2 separate regions of the Homo sapiens genome follow, and region 1 is linked to region 2. Evidence: promoter capture Hi-C in human tissues and cell types (Jung and others, 2019). All regions are on one chromosome and are shown on one strand. Each heading gives the region's core, a stretch centred on a gene start or on the middle of the fragment in contact. The rest is flanking DNA. Distances are from core to core; before and after follow the strand shown.

Region 1 (6,436 bases), core at 1,793-4,292, 50 kb after region 2:
AGCTCACGCCTATAATCCTTGCACTTTGGGAGGCTGAGGCGGACGGATCATGAGGCTAGGAGTTTGAGACCAGCCTGACCAACATGGTGAAACCCCCTCTCTACTAAAAATACAAAAATTAGCCAGGCGTGGTGGTGCATGCCTGTAGTCCCAGCTACTCAGGAGGCTGAGGCGGGAGAATCGCTTGAACCCAGGAGGCAGAGGTTGCAGTGAGCCAAGATCGCACCACTGCACTCCAGCCTGAGCGACAGAATGAGAATCTGTCTCAAAATAAAACAAAATAAAATAAAATAAAATATGACAATTGGTGACAAGTGTTATAAGGAAAATAAACCTGGGTAAGAGCATAAAGAATAAAAGGAAAGGAATGCTATTTTACATAGGCTGATCAGGGAAGGCCTTTCTGATAGGTAACACTTCAGCAAAAACTTAAAGGAGGTGAATGAATCAGCCATGAGGATATCAAGGTAAAGAGCATTGCAGGCAGTAAGTACAAAGTCCTGAGGCTCAAGCATAACTGGCTTGTTTGAGGAACAGCAGGAAGCTAGTGTGACTGAAGTACAGGTGATAAGATCTGAGTGGTAACCAGGGATCAGGTTATATAAGTCCCTGTAGGTCATGGGAACGATTTTGGATTTTATTCTGAGTGGGTTTAAAAGACACTGGGAGGTTTTAAACTAAGAAGTGACATGTCTGATTTATTCTTTTAAAGGATCAGTCACTTTTATGAGGAGAATAGAATGGCAAAGGTGGAAGCTGGGAACTCAGTTAAATCCAGGAGATAGATGATGGTAGCTTGGGCCAGGGTGGTGGTGAGGGTAATTTGTGCTCAGAACAGAAAGAAGTGAGCCAGGGCCTCTTCCCTCCAGAGGCATTTACCAAGCAAAAGGTGTTCCTTAAGTGAGAGGGACACATGAGACAATGAGTTAGTGACCTGCAGCCACCAGGAAAGTAGACCCTGGACTCTGGATATCTCTCTCTCTGTGTGTGTGTGTCTCTGTCTCTGTCTCTCTCTCTCTCTCTCTCACACACACACACACACACACACACACTCTCTCTCTCTCTCTCTCTCTCTCTCTCTCAACTAGGATTCTGTTGTAGTCTTTGCTCCAGGGGTCATTTGCCCAGCCCAGGAAACAACTGATAGGCAAGCAGTGCTTTGGGGTGGACACTGGGAACTGAAGAAAGCAGCTGAAGCTGTCCACCAGCCAAAGGGGACTCCTAGTGCAAATTACACTCTTGTGCAGAGAGAACTCAAAGGACTACACTCTGGAATATGGAAACAAAAAATTCCTCAAGCTTTGTTTCCAGACCACTAATGCTTTCAGGTGAGTCATGACTAAGGCAAGCTTAGAGAGAGGCCAGAAACCCAGAGAGGTTAGCATAGCATGCAGGGATAGCTTTTAACCTTAAGGTGTTTGACCATTCCAAAGAGGTATGTGAGAAGCTGAGCTGCTCATTTGTTGGTTTATGGGGCTGGGGGACAAAAGGTGGAATCTAAGGTGTACTGTTCCCTGCTTTGGGTTTGGAAACTAGATAGCTACACCCTAGTAGTAAGGACGAACCAGAAGTAAATTAGCCTTCATGACCTCTATAGATCAGATTTATCATTTGAATGGCCCACAAAATACCAAGATTTAAACTTGGAATAAGGTAATCCCGTACTCTTCCCATACTATTAGTGCCCCAGGCACTTGGTAAGGAACAAAAAAATCCTTTCTGGGAAAAGATAATATTATTCCAAGTCTCAAATTATTTCTATAAATAATTCTTCAGGACCGGGCACAGCGGCTCACACCTGTAATCCCAGCACTTTGGAAGGCCAAGGCGGGTGGGTCACCGGAGGTAAGGAGTTCGATACCAGCCGGGCCAACATGGTGAAACCCCATCTCTACTAAAAATACAAAAATTAGCTGGGTATGTTGGCAGGCACCTGTAATCCCAGCTATTCGGGAAGCTGAGGCAGGAGAATTGCTTGAACCCAGGAGATGCAGTTGCAGTGAGTCAAGATCGCGCCACTGCACTCCAGCCTGGGCGACAAAAGCAAGACTCCATCTCAATAATAATAATAACAATAATTCTTCAAATAGGATATCCAACACATAACTAAGGATAATCAGGGGCCAGATGTGGTGGCTTACGCCTGTAATCCCAACACTTTGGGAGGCTGAGGTGGGCAGATCACGAGGTCAGGAGTTCGAGACCAGCCTGGCCATCATGGTGAAACCCCCGTCTCTACTAAAAATACAAAATTTAGCTGGGCGTGGTGGTGGGTACCAGTAATCCCAGCTACTTGAAAGGCTGAGGCAGGAGAATCATTTGAACTCGGGAGGCGGAGGTTGCAGTAAGCTGAGATCGTGCCATTGCACTCCAGCTTGGACAACAGGACGAGACTCCGTCTCAAAAAATAAATAAATAAATAAATAAATAAATAAATAAATAAATAACCAGAGCCAGGCACAGTGGCTCGTGCCTGTAATCCCAGCACTTTCAGGAGGCCGGGGAGGTGGCTCACTTGAGGTCAGGAGTTCAAGACCAGCACACCTGCAGTCCCAGCTACTCAGGAGGCTGAGGCATGAAAATTGCTTGAGCCTAGGAGGCAGAGGTTGCAGTGAGCCGAGATTGAGCCACTGCGCTCCATCGTGGGCAACAGAGTGAGACTCTCTCAAAAGAAAAAAGAAAAAAGATAACGAGACACACAGTGAGAGACAACAAAGATTGAGCAAGAAGCATCAGAAACAACAGACAATACAAATACATCTGCCATCCACTATGACTCTAGATACTGTTAAAACCCCTATTTAAATACTCCTTAAGGAATTAGAAACTGTAAGGTGATACTACAGATTTGAAAACAAACAAACCAACTGGCTGGGCGCATTGGCTCACGCCTGTAATCCCAGCACTTTGGGAGGCGAAGGCAGCAGGTGGATCACCTGAGGTCAGGAGTTCGAGACCAGCCTGGCCAACATGGTGAAACCCCATCTCTACTAAAAATACAAAAATTAGCCAGGTATGGTGGCACATGCCTGTGGTCCCACCTACTTGGGAGGTTGAGGTGGGAGGAGGATCACTTGAGCCCAGGAGGTTGAGGCTACAATGAGCCATGTTTGTACCACTGCACTCCAGGCTGGGCAACAGGGCAAGACCCTGTCTCAAAAAAGAAAAAGAAAAACTGTCAGTAGTAATAAAGTAGAATTTATTTAATCTTATAAAATAGCAAAATGGAATTTCCTTAATCTTAAAAGAAACCTAAAGCAAGCATCAAACTTAAAGAATAAATATTAAAAGCTTTCCCCTATTAATGAGGAATGAGACAATGATATCCATTATCACTATTTCTATTCAATATTTTACTAGGCACAAAACAGCAATAAAAAATAAAAAAATTAAAGGTAAAAATATTAAAGATTAGGGCTGGGCGCAGTGGCTCATGCTTGTAATCCCAGCACTTTGGGAGGCAGAGGCGGATGGATCCCTTGAGGTCAGGAGTTCGAAACCAGCATGACCAACATGGCGAAATTCCTCTACTAAATACAAAAAATTAGCCAGGCTTGATGGCGGGCGCCTGTAATCCCAGCTACTTGGGAGGCTAAAACAGGAGAATCCCTTGAACCCGGGAGGCAGGAGTTGCAGTGAGCTGAGATTGTGCCATTGCACTACAGCCTGGGCAACAAGCGCAAAACCTCGTCTCAAAAAAAAAAAAAAAAAAGAAAAAAAGAAAAAGAAAAAAGAAAAAGTACAGTAAATTATTATAATTAATTAGAGAGTTTAGCAAATTGCTGGATACAAAATTAGCATTCAAAAATAAATTATAGAAGTATTATAGAAGTAAATATTTGTGATCCTGGGATAGGAAATAGTTTCTTAGATAGAGCATCAAAAACACAAATGACAAAAGAAAAAAATAGATAAATAGGGCTTCATAAAAATTTAAAATTTTTGTACACCATAAGTCACCATCAAGAAAGTAAAAAGACAACCTACAGAATGGGAGAAAATATTTGCAAACCATATATCTGACAAGGGACTTTTATCTAGAATGTATAACCTTAACATTCAATAATCTTTAAAAAAAAAAAAGCCCAATTTGTTTTTTTGTTTTTTTTTTTGTTTGTTTTTTGTTTTTTGTTTTTTTTTGAGACGGAGGCTCACTCTGTCACCCAGGCTGGAGTGCAGTGGTGCGATCTCAGCTCACTGCAAGCTCCGCCTCCCAGGTTCACGCCATTCTCCTGCCTCAGCCTCCCGAGTAGCTGGGACTACAGGCGCCTGCCACCACGCCCAGCTAATTTTTTGTATTTTTAGTAGAGATGGGGTTTCACCGTGTTAGCCAGGATGGTCTCGATCTCCTGACCTCTTGATCTGCCCACCTTGGCCTCCCAAAGTGCTGGGATTACAGGTGAGAGCCACCACGCCCAGCCAAAAAAAAAAGCCCAATTTTCAAAAAGGGGCAAAGGGGCCGGGCACGGTGGCTCACGCCTGTAATCTCAGCACTTTGGGAGGCCAAGGCAGGGGGATCAGGAGGTCAGGAGTTCGAGACCAGCCTGGCCAAAGCGACCAGCCTGGCCAACATGGTGAAACCCTGTCTCTACTAAAAATACAAAAATTAGCCGGGCATGGTGGCAGTACCTGTAATCCCAGCTACTCGGGAGGCTGAGGCAGGAGAATTGCTTGAACCCAGGAGGCAGAGGTTGCAGTAAGCTGAGATTGCCCCATTGCACTCCAGCCTGGGCAACAGAGTGAGACTCCTACTCAAAAAAAAAAAAAAAAAAAAGTTGGCGGATGCGGGGACAGCAAAGGGCTTAAGTAGACATTTCTTCAAAGAAGATATACAAATGGCTGATAAAGACATTTAAAGATATTCAGGGCCAGACGTGGTGGCCCACATCTATAATCCCAGCACTTTGGGCTGCCAACGTGGGAGGATATCTTGAGCCCAGGAGTTCACGACCAGCCTGGGCAACATAGTGAGACTATCTCTACATAAAAACAAAAAATAAGGCTGGGCATGGTTGCTCACACCTGTAATCCCAGCAATTTGGGAGGCCGAGGCAGGCAGATCACCTGAGGTCAGGAGTTTGAGACCAGCCTGGCCAACGTGGCAAAACGCTGTCTCTACTAAAAACTACAAAAATTAGCCTGGCATGGTGGCGGGCGCCTGTAATCCCAGCTACTTGGGAGGCTGAGACAGGAGAATCGCTTGAACTTGGGAGGCCGAGGTTGCAGTGAGCCGAGATTGAGCCATTGCACTCCAGCCTGGGTGACAGAGCAAAACTCCATCTCAAAAATAAATGACTAAATAAAATAAAGATGTTCAACATCACTAATCACTAAGGAAATGCAAACCAAAACCACGAGATACCATTTTACATGCAGAAGAATGGCTATAATTTTAGAAAGATAGAGTTTCACAAGTCTAGACGCTGAGCCGCAGCACATTTGCAACGTCACGTGGAAGCTGAAACTGCACCTCCCACGTGGCCCCTCTAGCCAGCTGAGAACCTCAGATAAGAACTACACCCAGGCCAGCACCAGCAGCTCAGCCACTAGCAGCAGCCCCACCCTCTGCAGCTGGCTCTCCTGCTGCTGCACTCCGCGGCAGCCAGGTCTGATGGCCCGGGCGGCAATCACTGCAGCTGGCATGGCTGTGGACTCTGCTGTGGGGCACATACTGGGTCATGCCATCAGTGGGAGCTTCAGTGGAGTAAATAATGCTGAGCCCCCAAGTGGTGACATCACTTACCAGAAGCCTCAGGGAACCCACCCGGCACAGCAGCAGTAGGCTTTCTTGTATGAGATAAAATGGTTTTTGGAATGTGCCCAGAATCAGGGAGACATAAAGTTCTGTGAGGGTTTCCATGAGGTGGTGAAACAGTGCAGACTTGCAAATGGATTTATCTAATCAAGAAGTTCAAATTGAAGAAATGGAAAATCAGCTCTCACAACTAAGTTAATTTAGCATAAAAACATAATTGATAGCCGGGCGTGGTGGCTCACGCCTGTAATCCCAGCACTTTGGGAGGCCGAGGCAGGCGGATCACCTGAGGTGGGGAGTGCGAGACCAGCCTAACCAACATGGAGAAACTCCGTCTCTACTAAAAAAAAAAAAAATACGAAAAATGAGCCGGGCGTGCTGGCGCATGCCTGTAATCCCAGCTACTCGGGAGGCTGAGGTAAGAGAATCACTTGAACCCAGGAGCTGCAGGTTGTGGTGAACCGAGATCATGCTATTGCACTCCAGCCTGGGCAACAAGAGCAAAATCTGTCTCAAAAAAAAAAAGTATATATATAATATATATTTAATAGTGAAGGTATAAAGTGTAAAACCGTCAGTGAAACCAATCCTCTGTCATTCATTACTTTCTTGCTTCAGAATTGCAATAGAAGAGGGTGTTCTTATTTGGTAGAATTTCATTAAGATAGTATAGAATTTGGG
Region 2 (6,622 bases), core at 3,799-6,298:
AACTACTTGATTATGCTCACATCTCAAATGTGGCTTTCATATATAGAAGGCTGATGTTCATTTACGCTTCACTTAATTCTTTAAAACAAGACAACAAAAAGGTTAAATGTAGTTAAATAAAGTGCTACCTCTATTATCATTTGTAGAACAGAAACATAACCCACAAAAATGAATACTGGGACAACACAGTTTTATCTTGTAGAAACATGCATTTAAAAGAAAAGGAAACAGGAAATGTTAAAAAAAAAAAAGACAACAGGAGTTGCCGCACTTACAGTAGGAAAAAAGCACAAGTATATTGACAGCACTCACCCTACCTAAACGTTAGAGCATTACAGAATAATTTTTTTTAACAAACAAAGTAGTAGCCTATACAACCTCCTGACATTGCTTCAACATTTTGTGAAGAATGTTTCTCTTCCCAGGAAAACAGACTAAGACTTATACTTAGCTTATGAATACAGGTCGAAATGGGAAATTAAATGCTAAATGAAAACTGAGACATCAAGAAAAGGTTTCAGATAAAGCTTTGGCTGAATTTGGAGCAACTTTGCGAGGAAAAAAGACTCAACCACCAAGACTAAAATTTCTTAGAATGATTATATCCCTTTACCTGGAATCCTCCAAGAAATTCAGATCAGATGGCATGTTCTGAACAACCAAATATACTTAAATAAGTTCTAGAATGTCTAAAATCATGTAGTAGCAGAAGAAGAAAAAGAACAACAATCAAAACATTTGGCAATTAAATTTTAAAACTTTATTGTAACTACCATTAATAAGGTAAGACCTAACAAAACTTTCTAATTGATACCTAAATAAGCTATTCAAACAAACAGATGATATTCAACAAACGTAAGTATTTCAAAATTAGACTAAGTATTAACATGAGGCTAGCATCTTCAGATTAAGAGCTTCGAATATCAATTCTCCATTAAGGTTGCCTGTAACAAAGAAATGCTGAGTTCACTGTGTTAATGATTTCTACCAAAAACAGAATTCTACACTGGATCTACCAGTACATGCAAGTTTATTAGCTTCATCATGGCAAGTTCTACGTCAATATAAAATAATCAAGAAACTAAAACTAATTCCAAAATTAAGTGATTAAATACATATCTTTCAGAATTTGGAAGAGTTTGCATTTAGATATAAGTATTATTGGAAATTACAATTACATTTTGGTAGTCCTCCTTTGCCCTTCTGATCCCTCTTTAAGATCACTTTAAAGGTCACTCTTTAAGAGTTCTATAATTTAGCATTAAAAACATAATTGGTATCTCTGGAAACATAATGGGATATCTAGATATGTGATGGATGGACCATTCAGATAGGCAAAATACAGTTTTACTTTTCTCTCTAATTACCTAATAAAACATTCTTCAAAGTCAAGACCTTCCATTTAATAGACAGTTGTTTTTCATGGCGTACAGTTAAGAATTTGCCCTATCTGAAAGTTATAAAATGCCCCATACATCTCTTATGTTGCTTTCAACACTAGCTGACTACCACCCCCAGAAAAGATTTATGCTGGTAAGAAGTGACAGACAAGAAATGAATTAACAACCTCATGAAATATATCACATTATTTTTAAAAAGATAATTTTCAGTCAAGTTAAAGCTTATCTGCTAATTTATCTTGTTAAAAAGGAAAAATTCACCCAAGGTATAATTTTAAATATTGGTCATATTCTAAACGCCAAATCTATAGCTTCACTAATAATGTGGTGGCACACTACCTTCATTTTTAACATTTCCAGTTGCTGTTTTATATTTCAGAAGCTGTTTTCAGACAAAGGAAAAAGGTTTTTTGTAATATATTTGCACCACCACGTATTCTGCCTAGTAATATGAAAATGCTAACACCTATCTTTAGGAAGACACAAAAACTCCAAAGACATGCTATATGCAACAAAGTTTCATAGAGGGAAAACAGGTCAAATAAACTGAAACTAAGTACTGGATGGTGATGTGTTTAACTATTTAAAATAGCTTATTATGTTACACAATTTTAAATTCTCTTCCTGTAACAGAATGCAATCATAAAACTGACTATACTGATTTGGATCTACTATAATTCAATCCACATTCCACAAGTCATGCAATAACTACATACACGTAAGTTCTAATAACAGGTTTTTTTGCTGTTGTTTTTGGTTTGTTTTTGTTTGGGTTTTTGTTTTTTTTTTTTTTTTAAAGAGTTTCGCTCTTGTTACCCATGCTGGAGTGCAACAGCGCGATCTCCGCTCACCGCAACTTCCGCCTCCCAGATTCAAGCGATTCTCCCGCCTCAGCCTCCTGAGTAGCTGGGATTACAGGCATGTGCCACCACGCTCGGCAAATTTTGTACTTTTAGTAGAGATGGGGTTTCTCCATGTTGGTCAGGCTTGTCTGGAACTCCTGACCTCAGGTGATCCACCCGCCTCGGCCTCCCAATTTGCTGGGATTACAGGCGTGAGCCACCACGCTCGGCTTCTAATAACAGTTTTTAAGCAGCTCTTCAAACATAAGAACTATGACAGATAGCATGTATTATGTAAATATACATAATGTGAACCTAAAATTCCATTTTATCTAAGTATTTCGATCTCCTACATCACTTTTTCTCAAACCATTACCAGTCAGAAGCCAAGCAGAATTTCACCTTATAGCCCTAATACCACTCATGCTAAGGTGGCAGCAATAATAGTAAAACTGTTGGGAGGCCGAGGTGGGCGGATCACCAGGTCAGGAGATGGAGACCATCCTGGATAACACGGTGAAACTCCGTGTCTAGTAAAAATACAAAAAATTAGCCGGGCGTGGTAGCACGCGCCTGTAGTCCCAGCTACTCAGGAGGCTGAGACAGGAGAATCGCTTGAACGTGGGAGGCGGAGGTTACGGTGAGCCGAGATCGCGCCACTGCACTCCAGCCTGGGCGACAGAGCGAGACTCCGTCTCAAGGGGGAAAAAAAAAAGTAAAACTGTCAAAAAACAGTAGCTGAAAGGAGGAAGCTGAGCAATCTACAAACATAACAGCCCCTAAATAAATGAGCTGGCTTTGAAAGTAAACAAAACAATGAACTGCTTTTATCAGTTTTGGGGGATTACCCTAATATCGATGAAGATGATGGTCTGGCTGGGTAACTTCCCATCTTGCCTTCCCCAAACTTGATGGCTATTTGTCAACTAGCTATCAAACTTGACAGCTATTTGTTAACTAGCACATACGAGGATTTGTAAAATGTTCATTATAGTTAAAAACGAAGATTTATCAAATAGCCTTCTCTGACAATTAATAAACCAATAAGCATTCTAAGCATAGGCTGGGGGGGCGGGGCATGTGTTAAACCAAAAGAAATATGAGACATAGTCCCTATATTTCAAAGGCCTCCCAATTCATTACAGTGCAAGAATAAACACACATGAATAAGTCAGAGACCAATTAATTGCTAACCTGAGTGGTACAGACTTTAAGTGCATGAGCTGTCCTGAGAAGTTTAAATATCTAAAGGTTGGAATAATATTACTTTTAATAGCTATCACTTGAGCACTTACTATAAGCCAAGTGCTTTACAGGCATTATTTAGTCTTCACAACAATCCTTTGAGTAGAGTACTTATTATTCCCAATTTACTCAAGGGGAAACAGTCCAAGTGGTTAAGGAACTTACCCAAGGTCACTCAGCTACTTAAGTGGCTAAGACAGCCGCTTATTTAGGGAATTCTAGAGCTCACACTGTTAAGACTTCATACAGCAGTGCGGGGGGTGCGGGGGAGGAAGCCACATAGGCTGGCACTATTACAAGCGCGGGATCCGGCAACGCGTTCCTCGTGTTTCGTTCCAAGTAACGAAGTTACAAAGATTTGAATCTTTAGCATGAGCCACGGTAAACTGGCTACTAGAAATGGAGAGGGGTGGGCAAGGACGACAAAAATGGCTAACGAGGGTTAATTTCATCCAGGGTTGAGCTTTAGCATCTAAAAGCGACCCAGAGAAGGAAATGAGATGTTATTAATATTTGTTCTTATATCTGAGGTTTGCTTTGCTGCTTAAACGACTCCTTCCAGGGGAAGGGGAGGAGGGAGCGCTCTAACGTGGGGGCGAGAAGACTAGGGGTATGGCAAATTACTGTTTTCGGTGTTACGGGGGAAAGTTTCACGACTAAAGGAAACGCGTTATCCTAGGTACTGGAGAAGCTTGGAGAGCTGCCAGAATTAGTTGCAGTCCCAGGATAAAATGGGGTTTAGGGAACATTTAATGACGAAAGTTGAATCCAACCCGAAATAGCTCTAAGGTGAAAAGACGGAGCAAAGAAATGTCGGTGGTTCTTCAGGGAAAGCGGCAATCCCTGCCACACTTCCCCACGGCGCTACGCGAGGCCGGGACAGTCGAGAGACCGCTCCCCGGGAGGGCGAGAGGTGCCAAACCGGGTTCTTCGCGGCGCCCCGGGCTTCGCGGCAGCGGGCGAAGAGGAGGGGAGGGGAATCCGGGACGGTTCGCCCTCCTTGGACTTCAGGCAGAGGAGGCGCCAAGCTCCAAACTGCGGAGTCCAACGGGTGCAGAGTGAAGAAATGGCACAGAGAGAGATGGAAAGTCCGAATTGCCCCGGCTCAGCCCCATAAAGATAAAGGAGCCAAGTGAGATCAAGCGAAGAGGGGGACACAAAAAGAGACCAAGAGGGAGCGCGGAGACCTGCAGGGGCGGAATAAGAGTTCTACTAAGAGGCTAAAGGAAGCCGAGCTACCGCAGGCAGTAGCGATTTCTGGGAGGCCAGGGAAGGAAGGAGGTCCGCGGCGGTAAACAGCACCTCTCCCCGAGTTCGAAACTCCTAGACGACCATCCACGCCCGCCGCCCGGGTGGGGGAGGGGGTACATCTTTCCCCCTCAACCTCCCACTACAGGTGAGAGTGCAGCTGACGCCCTGGCCCGGCCCGGCAGTGCGCCTGCCTCCGGCCCGAACACTCACAATTCGCCTCTCCCTGATTTCTCCCAGTTCTTTATCCACTCTGCGGGAACCACCACAGCCGCGGCCGCCATCTTCCTCTCACTAGTAGCAGAAGCCCGGATGTGTAGCACGCGAGCGAAGGGTCAAAGGGGAGCACCGCCCACGAGGAATGCCGGGAGCTGAGAGTTCGTTTTTCGATTTCCCGCCCCACTTTCCTCTCCACCCAGCGGAAACCCGAGGCAAGGCAGCCAACGACGTGGAGACTCGCGGGCCCCTTTGCGAGGTTACTACACGGGTTGCGCCCTCCGAAGTCTTCGGCCTTACTTCCCATTAGAACAGAGAAATGCCATCCACAGGCCAACAAGTAGACTTCATCTTCTTCCGTAATATCTACCCCTAACCACTAATACAAACACGCATTTTTCAAGCACCTAATATGTGCTAGACACTGGGAATAGAGAAATAATAGTCTTTGGGAAAGCCATAAATATAAGCAAATAAATTACATTACGCCCTGCTGACTGCTGAGATAAAAGAAAATAATCGGGTCCCTCTCCTTCTCCCTCTCCCTCTCCCGTCTCCCTCTCCCGTCTCCCTCTCCCCACGGTCTCCCTCTCCCTCTCTTTCCACAGTCTCCCTCTGATGCCGAGCCAAAGCTGGACTGTACTGCCATCTCGGCTCACTGCAACCTCCCTGCCTGATTCTCCTGCCTCAGCCTGCCGAGTGCCTGCGATTGCAGGTGCGCGCCGCCACGCCTGACTGTTTTTCGTATTTTTTTGGTGGAGACGGGGTTTCGCTGTGTTGGCCGGGCTGGTCTCCAGCTCCTAACCGCGAGTGATCCGCCAGCCTCGGCCTCCCGAGGTGCCGGGATTGCAGACGGAGTCTCGTTCACTCAGTGCTCAATGGTGCCCAGGCTGGGGTGCAGTGGCGTGATCTCGGCTCGCTGCAACCTCCACCTCCCAGCCGCCTGCCTTGGCCTCCCAAAGTGCCGAGATTGCAGCCTTTGCCCGGCCGCCACCCCGTCTGGGAAGTGAGGAGCCTCTCTGCCTGGCCGCCCATCGTCTGGGATGTGAGGAGCCCCTCTGCCTGGCTGCCCAGTCTGGAAAGTGAGGAGCGTCTCTGCCCGGCCGCCATCCTGTCTAGGAAGTGAGGAGCGTCTCTGCCCGGCTGCCCATCGTCTGGGATGAAGTGAGGAGCGTCTCTGCCTGGCCGCCCATCGTCTGAGATGTGGGGAGTGCCTCTGCCCCGCCGCCCCGTCTGGGATGTGAGGAGCGCCTCTGCCCGGCCGCGACCCCGTCTGGGAGGTGAAGAGCGTCTCTGCCCGGCCGCCCCGTCTGAGAAGTGAGGAGACCCTCCGCCCGGCAGCCGCCCCGTCTGAGAGGTGAAGAGCGTCTCCGCCCGGCCGGCCGCCCCGTCCGGGAGGGAGGTGGGGGGGTCGGCCCCCCGCCCGGCCGGCCGCCCCGTCCGGGAGGTGACGGGCGCCTCTGCCCGGCCGCCGCTACTGGGAAGTGAGGAGCCCCTCTGCCCGGCCACCACCCGGTCTGGGAGGTGTACCCAACAGCTCATTGAGAACGGGCCATGATGACAATGGCGGTTTTGTGGAATAGAAAAGGGGGAAAGGTGGGGAAAAGATTGAGAAATCGGATGGTTGCTGTGTCTGTGTAGAAAGAGGTAGACATGGGAGACTTTTCATTT

Evidence for each region. The method cuts DNA at HindIII sites, captures the fragments that hold promoters and counts their contacts. A contact is called where the count stands out against the background at its distance.
Region 1: a fragment that was not itself captured here is called in contact with the fragment with the promoter of THOC2 in region 2 in 2 of the 25 tissues and cell types used here (adrenal gland and neural progenitor cells).

Annotation. Positions count from the first base shown.
Region 1 is chrX:123,779,559-123,785,994 of GRCh38, forward strand. It overlaps the pseudogene CHCHD2P1. Among named protein-coding and RNA genes, the nearest start is that of THOC2, 50 kb to the left of the region's middle. RefSeq lists an enhancer at 5,263-5,442. The HindIII fragment of the contact is 6,704 bases long and covers 1-6,394 here.
Region 2 is chrX:123,728,004-123,734,625 of GRCh38, forward strand. THOC2 (THO complex subunit 2) reads right to left here and starts at 5,049. Exons shown (of 39, transcript NM_001081550.2): 1 at 4,949-5,049. The coding sequence starts at 5,019. RefSeq lists an enhancer at 4,985-5,064. The HindIII fragment of the contact is 14,729 bases long and covers 2,900-6,622 here.